3 separate regions of the Homo sapiens genome follow, and regions 1 and 3 are each linked to region 2. Evidence: promoter capture Hi-C in human tissues and cell types (Jung and others, 2019). All regions are on one chromosome and are shown on one strand. Each heading gives the region's core, a stretch centred on a gene start or on the middle of the fragment in contact. The rest is flanking DNA. Distances are from core to core; before and after follow the strand shown.

Region 1 (2,700 bases), core at 42-2,541, 270 kb before region 2:
GACATTTTCAACTTCCAAATAAAAGCAGCAACAATACTATTTTCCACCTAATGTGATGCAACTATTCATTTTACAACCCAAAGACCTTTAATCTTCTCTATGGAAGAGATATTTGAAAATGCTAGTCCGTCTCCCAGATGACTAACAACCCCTTTTGCTCTTTCATGCTATAAATACCAAGGATCAACCAATATAAACCTATATTACATAGAGGGGTATGAAGGCACTGAGACAAAAAGCAGAGGACTCAGTTAATACAGAAACTATATTCACATCAGCTGGGCATGGTGGCACATGTCTGTAGAGCTACTCAGAGGGCTGAGGTGGTAGGATTGCATGAACCTGGAAAGTGAAGGTTACAGTGAGCCAAGATCGCACCACTGCACTCCAGTCTACATGACAGAGCGAGACCTTGTCTGAAAAAAAATATATATATATACACATCAAAGTGAGGAAGATTATATAAATATCTAACTTAGTCCTTGTTTCAGCAGCTGGCCTTGAGGCTAAAGCTGGCATTTAAAAATTTCCTCTTTCAAGTTAGACACAGTGGCACATGCCTGTAATCCCAGCTACTCAGGTGGCTGAGGTGGGAGGCTCATTTGAGTTCCGGAGTTCAAGACCAGCCTGGGGAACGTAACAGAACTCCACCTGAAAAAAAATTTCTTCCACTATCCATTCCATAATCCCTATGCTCTCAGCAAACACCTCAACTGGCTGTGATTTTTTAACCTGGTGAAGTTACTCACGTCTTCATGAAGTATACATTCCCTCAGGAGTCCTTCCTGTAATGGATTATTATCATTTTCCCATGTTTTACAATGGGACGTGGGAGTTCTAAGAGGCATCCCACAGAATGCCTTGTGTGAGTGGTATAGTTATACTCTCTTCTGCCGATTGTGTAGTAACTACCCAATTCCCCCCTTGATAATCAGGACAATTTGCCACTTTTTACTATCAGGCTTTACACGATTTCTTCTACCTTAGACTATATAACCATTCAGTTACATCCAGGTTAATGGCTTCCACTTCCAAAGTCCGTATCTCTGGAGTCAACAGCAAGAACACTTCCTGCCAAGGACTACTCCAGATTTTTGCATGCTTAATCCAAAGCAAAAATAAGACCTTTTGAATTAGGGATGTTTCTATCATTAATCTTCATCACACATAATTTTTTTTTTGCAATTCAGATTCCTGGTGAAAGTTCTTCAGAGCTTCAAATTCCTTTTGGTGTAACAATATATTATTTGCACCAATTTTACCTGTACGGCACCCACTTTTCATTCTTATAAAACTTATCACTTGGTAAAAAAAATTCTCACTTTTCCTGAATGTCCTTTTGGTTCCTTGTAATATCCTCCATCTAGGCCATTCAACAGGGTGAGCTTCATACTGATGGGGAGTTCAAGAAGGGAGTTATCAAAAGATAAAGTAAGTGTACTCGCATTTTCTCCTTGAGAGGTTGGGTAAGTCAACAATAGACTAGACCTATGGAATATGAGAAACAGCAGGCTGTCCCTATAAGACAGGAGACTGCTGAGAGCTATGCTGAGTCCAAGGAAGAGAAGGCAGTTGTAAATTGTACTCAGAGTTAATTTGCCCTGACAGAAAATGGAGATAGAGAAAAATAAGACACAATACTCTGAAATGTGCATCTCCATGTCATTCCATGAATGGTATGGTCTAAGTTTGATTGTTTTATCAGTAGAGATTATCTTCGAACTCATCTGAGTGAGCAAGTCACCACTCTTGCCCAATAGCTTCTTCTCTCTGTCAATCTGAACCCCACCCATAATCTCGTCTTGAATAGCACCTCCCTCTGGCTGACTCCCCTTGACTTAGCTCCTGGCTCTTGACCCAGAAAGTGACTCATTCAGGCTATCACTTATCGGGGGAAGCAGCCCCCGATAATTCAACGTAGGTTCTTTTCTGTTTTCCCTAAGTGTCGGCCAGTCTGAGAAATAAAGCGAAAGAGTACAAAAGAAAGAAATGGTAAAGCTTGGTGTCTGGGGAAGACATCACAGGTCGGCAGGTTCCATGATGCCCCCTGAGCCATAAAACCAGCAAGTTTTTATTAGCAATTTTCAAAGGGGAGGGAGTGTACAAATAGGGTTTTATTAGCAATTTTCAAAGGGGAAGGAGTGTACGAATAGGGTGTGGGTCACAGAGATCACATGCTTCAAGGGCGACAAAAGATCACAAGGGCAGAAGGTCAGGGCGAGATCACAAGGTCAGGGTGAAACTAAAATCACTAATGAAGTTTCATGTCCCGCCGTGCACACATTGTCATTGATAAACATCTTAACAGGGTTCAAGAGCAGAGAACTGGTCTGACTAGAATTCGCCAGGCTGGAATTTCCTAATCCTAGCAAGCCTGGGGGTGCTGCAGGAGGCCAGAGCATGTTTCATCCCTTATCTGCAACTGCATAAGGCAGACACCCCCAGAGTGGCCATTTTAGAGGCCCCCCTGGGAAGGCATTATTTTCCCAGGGCTGTTAATTATTAATATTCCTTACTGGGAAAAGAATTCAGCAATATTTCTCTTACCTGTTTTCCGTAATAAGAGAAATATGGCTCTGTCCTGCCCAGCCCACAGGCAGCCAGACTTTAAGGTTATCTCCCTTGTTCCCTGAAAATCACTGTTATCCTGTTCTTAAGGTGCCCAGATTTCAAACTGTTCAAACACACATGCTTTACGAA
Region 2 (2,700 bases), core at 87-2,586:
GCCTGCAACTCCTGGGCTCAAGCGATCCTCCCGCCTCAGCCTCCCAAGTAGCTGGGACTACAGGCATGTATTTTTTTTTTTTTTTTTTTTGAGACGGAGTCTCACTCTGTCGTCCAGGTGGAGTGCAGTGGTGCAATCTCAGCTCACTGCAACCTCTGCCTCCCGGGGTTAAGCGATTCTCGTGCCTCAGCCTCCCGAGTAGCTGGGATTACAGGCATGCACCACCATGCCCAGCTAGTTTTTGTATTTTCAGTAGAGATGGGGTTTCACTGTGTTGGCCAGGCTTGTCTCGAACCCCTGACCTCAGGTAATCCGCCCGCCTTGGCTTCCCAAAGTGCTGGGATTACAGGCGTGAGCTCCACCGCGCCCGGCCCAGGCTACGGATTTTAGCTTTTATGTTCATTGTACCAGGAACTGTGTAAGTGCTCATGTATATTTATTGAGTCGATGAATGAAGCACCAATTGTCGAATGACCTTGAGGACTCCTGCAGGATGCTAACGAACACACTTCTCAGCCGGACTGAGCTCCATCATCCTGCCATGCGGCTCACCCCACCTGCGTTCTGGCTTCATTCCTGTCTCCATGCACTTGCTTAAAGTCGTGCCGGCGTCAGGATCTCCCTTCCTACCAGCCAGGAAGCTCTTCCCTCTTATTTTCCCCGCTCCTCGAGGTAAAGGTGCGCACAGAGGGGCCCCCAAGGCGTGACTGGAAGGCTTGTGGGTCGCTATGGTTACTGCATCCGCCCGGGGCGGGACATCCCCAGGACGCCCAGCCTCTAGGGGTGCGAGGTGGGAAGCTCTGGAGCGGCCCAGCGCAGGGGCGGGCAAGCCAGGAGGCAAAGCGGTTTCCTCACGCCTCCACCCCACCCACACAGTTGTCAAGGAGACAAAGCGCTTCCCTTCAGCGCTGTCTCCCTCCCCTTTGGTTAGAGGGCAGGGTGGGCTGGAAGACTGTCCGAAAGGTTGGGTACTGGCGCGCTCCCAGCATCTCTCCCATCCAAGCTCGCAACGCCTGCGCCGAGACCCGGTACCGGGTACAACCCGAGGCACGCGCATGCGCGCGATGGAGTTTTTGCGCGTGCGCCGTTGTGGCCCCAGGAAGCTGGGGTACCCGCGCGGCGCTAACGTTGCGGCTGCGCAGTTGCGGCCTGCTGGTGGGGCTCGGCGGAGCGCAGTTCTGCGCCTGCGCTGTGCTGGGGTAGGTGGGAATGAAACCCTGGCGGTAAGGGCATTGGGGCCGACTGGCCCTGGGCGCGCCTGCGCCTTGGCATGCGGGGCGGCCGGAGGCGGGGCCGAAAGAGGGGAGGGAGGGAGGCGGGGGGTGGGAACAGGCCGCAGAAGCCCGAGCCCTGACCCACCGGCGGCTGCGGCGGAGCCGGTGAGTGACCCGTGGCCCGACTCGGTCCCCACCCTCCGCGACCTTCGCTCTCCCTGCCGTCCCCCGTAGCCTCCGTTGTCTCCTTGTGATACGGGACCCCCGTTATTTCCAGAGCTCCCCTTAATTTCTGGCAATCCCCAGAGCCCCCACAATCCTCGCAGACCCTGATCCCTAATATTTGATCGTTCCAGCTCTTCCAGTGATACAGGAGCTCCCACCTCACCATTATTCCTGGACATCCCTCTAAGGGCCCTTCTCATATCGGTCTTACAGACGCCCCGTTGCCCCCTAGAGCCCCTAGAGCGCCTCCTCTGCTCCAGATTCCCCCCTTCTTGCTGCATCCCCCCTTCCGCATCTCCTTATCTTCATGCATCTAAGACCCCCCCGAGGCACCCCCATCCTCCCTCCATTTCCTATCCTCCCGTGCCCCCATTCTCTAACTCCTGCAGACACCTCCTCTCCTCGCACTTTTCCTCCTTTCCTTCCATCCCTCCAGACCCTCCCCCAATTTCTATCAACTCTTCAGCGTGGCACTTCGCGCCGCGCGAAGTCCGAGCCAAGCGCTCAGCCGGTGTCAGCTACTCTTAGGCGCTTCCGACTTACCCGGGTGCCCGTCGCCCCCGCCCGCCCCCCGCCCCCACTCCTGCCCCCGGGGACTAAGGAGCTCTCGGCCCGGCGGTCTGGGAGAGGCGGCGGCGGGGGGACCCCGAACCCCAGCCAGCCCCGTGCGCCCTTTGCCCGCAGCGCCGGCGCCCCCCATGCGCCAGACGGCAGGACGGCGGCGTCGGGGGGCGCCATGGCCTCGGCGGCGGCGGGCGAAGCGGAGGAAACCACCCGGTTGCGCAAGCCGCGCTTCTCATTCGAAGAGAACCAGATCCTGATCCGCGAGGTGCGCGCCCACTACCCGCAGCTCTACGGCGCGCAGAGCCGTCGGGTGAGCGTGGCAGAGCGGCGGCGCGTGTGGGACGGCATCGCCGCCAAGATCAACGGTATCACCAGCTGGAAGCGCACGGGCCAGGAGGTGCAGAAGCGCTGGAACGACTTCAAGCGCCGCACCAAGGAGAAGCTCGCTCGCGTGCCGCACTCCACGCAGGGCGCCGGGCCCGCCGCGGAGGACGCTTTCTCCGCGGAAGAGGAGACCATTTTTGCCATCCTGGGGCCAGGTGTGGCGGCGCCGGGGGCAGGTGCTGGGGCGGAGGAGCCCCCTGCGGCCCCCTCTTCACAGCCGCCGCCCCCAAGCGCCTGCCCTCAGCGCTACGTGTTGTCGGAAGACCGCCGGGAGGACCGACGTGCAGGTGAGTGTCTTCAGAGTAGGCTGTGT
Region 3 (2,700 bases), core at 100-2,599, 350 kb before region 2:
GGCTGGAGTGCAGTGGTGCAATCTCGGCTCACTGCAACCTCTGTCTCCCAGGTTCAAGCGATCCTCCTGCCTTCATCTCCTGAGTAGCTTTGATTACAGGTGCGTACCACCACACCCCGCTAATTTTTTGTATATAGTAGAGACGGGGTTTTGCCATGTTGGCCAGACTGGTCTTGAACTCCTGACCTCAGGTGATTCACTCACCTCGACCTCTCAAAGTGCTGGGATTACAGGCGTGAGCCACTGCGCCCGGCCTTGTTTGTTAATTCTAACAGGTGTTTTATTTGGGGTGTGTGTGTGTGGAAGGTTTAGTGTTTTCTATAAATAAGATTATGTTTCTGTGAATAGAGATGCTTTTACCTCTTCCTTTCCAATTTGGATGCTTTTAATTGTTTTAACCACCAAAACAATTCTCTATTATTTTTTTGGTCATGAAGTCCTTGTAATGATAGTAGGGCTGGGTACCATATTGGTGTCACACTCTGCCAGTCATCCAAAGAATATGCCAGACTTTTTTTTGTTTCAACTCCTGTGTGTACTAGTACGTCACTGGGCCCATCAGGTGGCTCACCAAGAGAATTTCAGTAATGGATTTCGGCTCTCTGTGCATAATAGATGACAGTCCTTACGAAGGATTCCGTTTGTCTTATAGCTTAGATTTGAACCTGCTGCAGATGTCACATTTACATTCTTGGATGGGTTTTTATCATCAGTTTCACCTCCTCCTCCTCTTCTTCCTCCTCCTTTTCTCTCTGGATGCTTTTAATTCTTTTCTTTTCTTTTTTTTTTTCTAAAGGTTCTGGCTAGCACCTCCAGTACAATGTTAAATAGCAGTGGTAGAAGCAGGTCTCTTTGTCTTGTTCCTGATCTTGGAGGAAGAGCCTTCAGTCTTTCACCCTGGAGCTCACGGCCTAGAGAAGAAGGCACAGAAATGAGCAAATTATGCAAATTAATGTATCATTTCAATTAGTGATATGTGCAACAGCAAGTAGCATAAGACATATTAATGTGTAAAATTTTGTCTCGGAAGGAGGAGAAACTTTCTCAAAGAATCTGCGTCCTGAGTAATTGGTAGGAGTAGGAAATCTATTAAGGTGATAGATACTCTAGCAGGGATTGCCCTAATTTCTTTTTGGCATTGGCCCCACTTAACAACGGAATAGGAAAACCTCCAGGAAGGAAGGAAGCTAAAGAAACCGGACTGGTTAACCAAGGAACCAGATCTGTTGCCTAAAAGTGAATCATCAAGTTTGTGGCTATTCCTGTAGGGCATGGTAAATGCCCACAACACATGGCCCTGAAGTTTGTTCTTCTTTCTGACTTTGATGGAGTTCAATTTATTGGTGTTTACTATTTTGCCTGGACTTTTGGTGTCACATCCAAGAAATCTGCCAAGTCCAATGTCAGGAAGCTTTCTCCCTATGTATTCTTCTAAGAGCTTTATAGTTTTAACTTTTGCATTTAGGCCTTGGATCTCATTAGTTTTTTGAACTAATTCTTGTGTATGGTTAGAGATAAGGGTCCAACTTCATTTTTTTTTTTTTTTTTTTGAGATGGAGTCTCGCTCTGTTGCCCAGGTTGGAGTGCAGTGGCGCGATCTCGGCTCACTGCAAGCTCCGCCTTCCAGGTTCACACCATTCTCCTGCCTCAGCCTCCCAAGTAGCTGGGACTACATGTGGCCACCACCATGCCCAGCTAATTTTTTGTATTTTTTTTAGTAAAGACAGGGTTTCGCTGTGTTAGCCAGGATGGTCTCGATCTCCTGACCTTGTGATCCGCCTGCCTTGGCCTCCCAAAGTGTTGGGATTACAGGCGTGAGCCACCGCGCCTGGCCTGTTCTTTATTTTTCAAAATTATTTTGTCTATTCAGGGTCCCTTAAGAGTCCATGCGAATTTTAGGATTTTTTCTGCTTCTGCAAAATTGTCATTGAGATTTTGATAGAGATTGCTTTGAAGCTGTAGATCACTTTGGGTAGTATGGACATTGTTACAATATTAAATCTTCCAACCCATGAACACAGACTGTCTTTCCATTTATTTGTGTCTTCATTACTTTTTTTCAACAATGTTTTGTAGTTTGCACTATACAAGTCATTTGCTCTCTTGGTTAAGTTTATTCTGAATTATTTTATTCTTTTTTTATTTTTATTTTTTGAGACAGAGTCTTGCTCTGTGGCCCAGGCTGGAGTGCAGTGGCATGATCTTGGCACACTGTAACCTCCCCCTCCTGGGTTCAAGCAATTCTCTTGCCTCAGCCTCTGGAGTAGCTAGGATTACAGGCGAGCGTCACCATGCCCGGCTAATTTTCATATTTTTAGTAGAGACGGGGTTTCACCATGTTGACCAGGCTGGTCTTGAACTCCTGACCTCAAGTGATCCACCTGCCTCAGCCTGCCAAAGTGCTGGGATTACAGGCGTGAGCCACCATGCCTGGCCTGAAGCACTTTATTCTTTTTGATGGTATTATAAATGAGGTAGTTTTCTTAATTTCCTTTTTGGCTTGTTCATTGTTAGTGTATAGAAATGCAAGAAATTTTTTTTTTTTTTAAGTTGAAGTCTCGCTCAATATCCCAGGCCGGAGTGCAGTGGCACCGTCTCAGCTCACTGCAGCCTCTGCCTTCCAGGTTCAAGTGATTCTTCTGCCTCAGCCTCCCGAGCATCTGGGATTACAGGTGCCCACCACCACACCCAGCTAATTTT

The links. Contacts are between HindIII fragments. The study calls those that stand out against the background at their distance.
Region 1: a contact is called between a fragment that was not itself captured here and the fragment with the promoter of MYPOP in region 2, in 2 of the 25 tissues and cell types used here (lymphoblastoid cells and mesendoderm cells).
Region 3: a contact is called between a fragment that was not itself captured here and the fragment with the promoter of MYPOP in region 2, in 1 of the 25 tissues and cell types used here (lymphoblastoid cells).

What each region holds. Positions count from the first base shown.
Region 1 is chr19:46,170,455-46,173,154 of GRCh38, reverse strand. The region is part of intron 4 of LOC105372424 (a long non-coding RNA gene); the gene reads left to right. It also overlaps a transcript of IGFL2 not described here. Among named protein-coding and RNA genes, the nearest start is that of IGFL2, 24 kb to the right of the region's middle. RefSeq lists an enhancer at 1,973-2,523. The HindIII fragment of the contact is 4,773 bases long and covers 1-2,700 here.
Region 2 is chr19:45,901,249-45,903,948 of GRCh38, reverse strand. MYPOP (Myb related transcription factor, partner of profilin) reads left to right here and starts at 1,336. Exons shown (of 3, transcript NM_001012643.4): 1 at 1,336-1,379; 2 at 2,124-2,674. The coding sequence starts at 2,176. RefSeq lists silencers at 644-723, 1,284-1,333 and enhancers at 984-1,093, 1,524-1,573. The HindIII fragment of the contact is 9,891 bases long and covers 1-2,700 here.
Region 3 is chr19:46,253,500-46,256,199 of GRCh38, reverse strand. No RefSeq gene overlaps it. Among named protein-coding and RNA genes, the nearest start is that of IGFL1, 25 kb to the right of the region's middle. The HindIII fragment of the contact is 4,943 bases long and covers 1-2,700 here.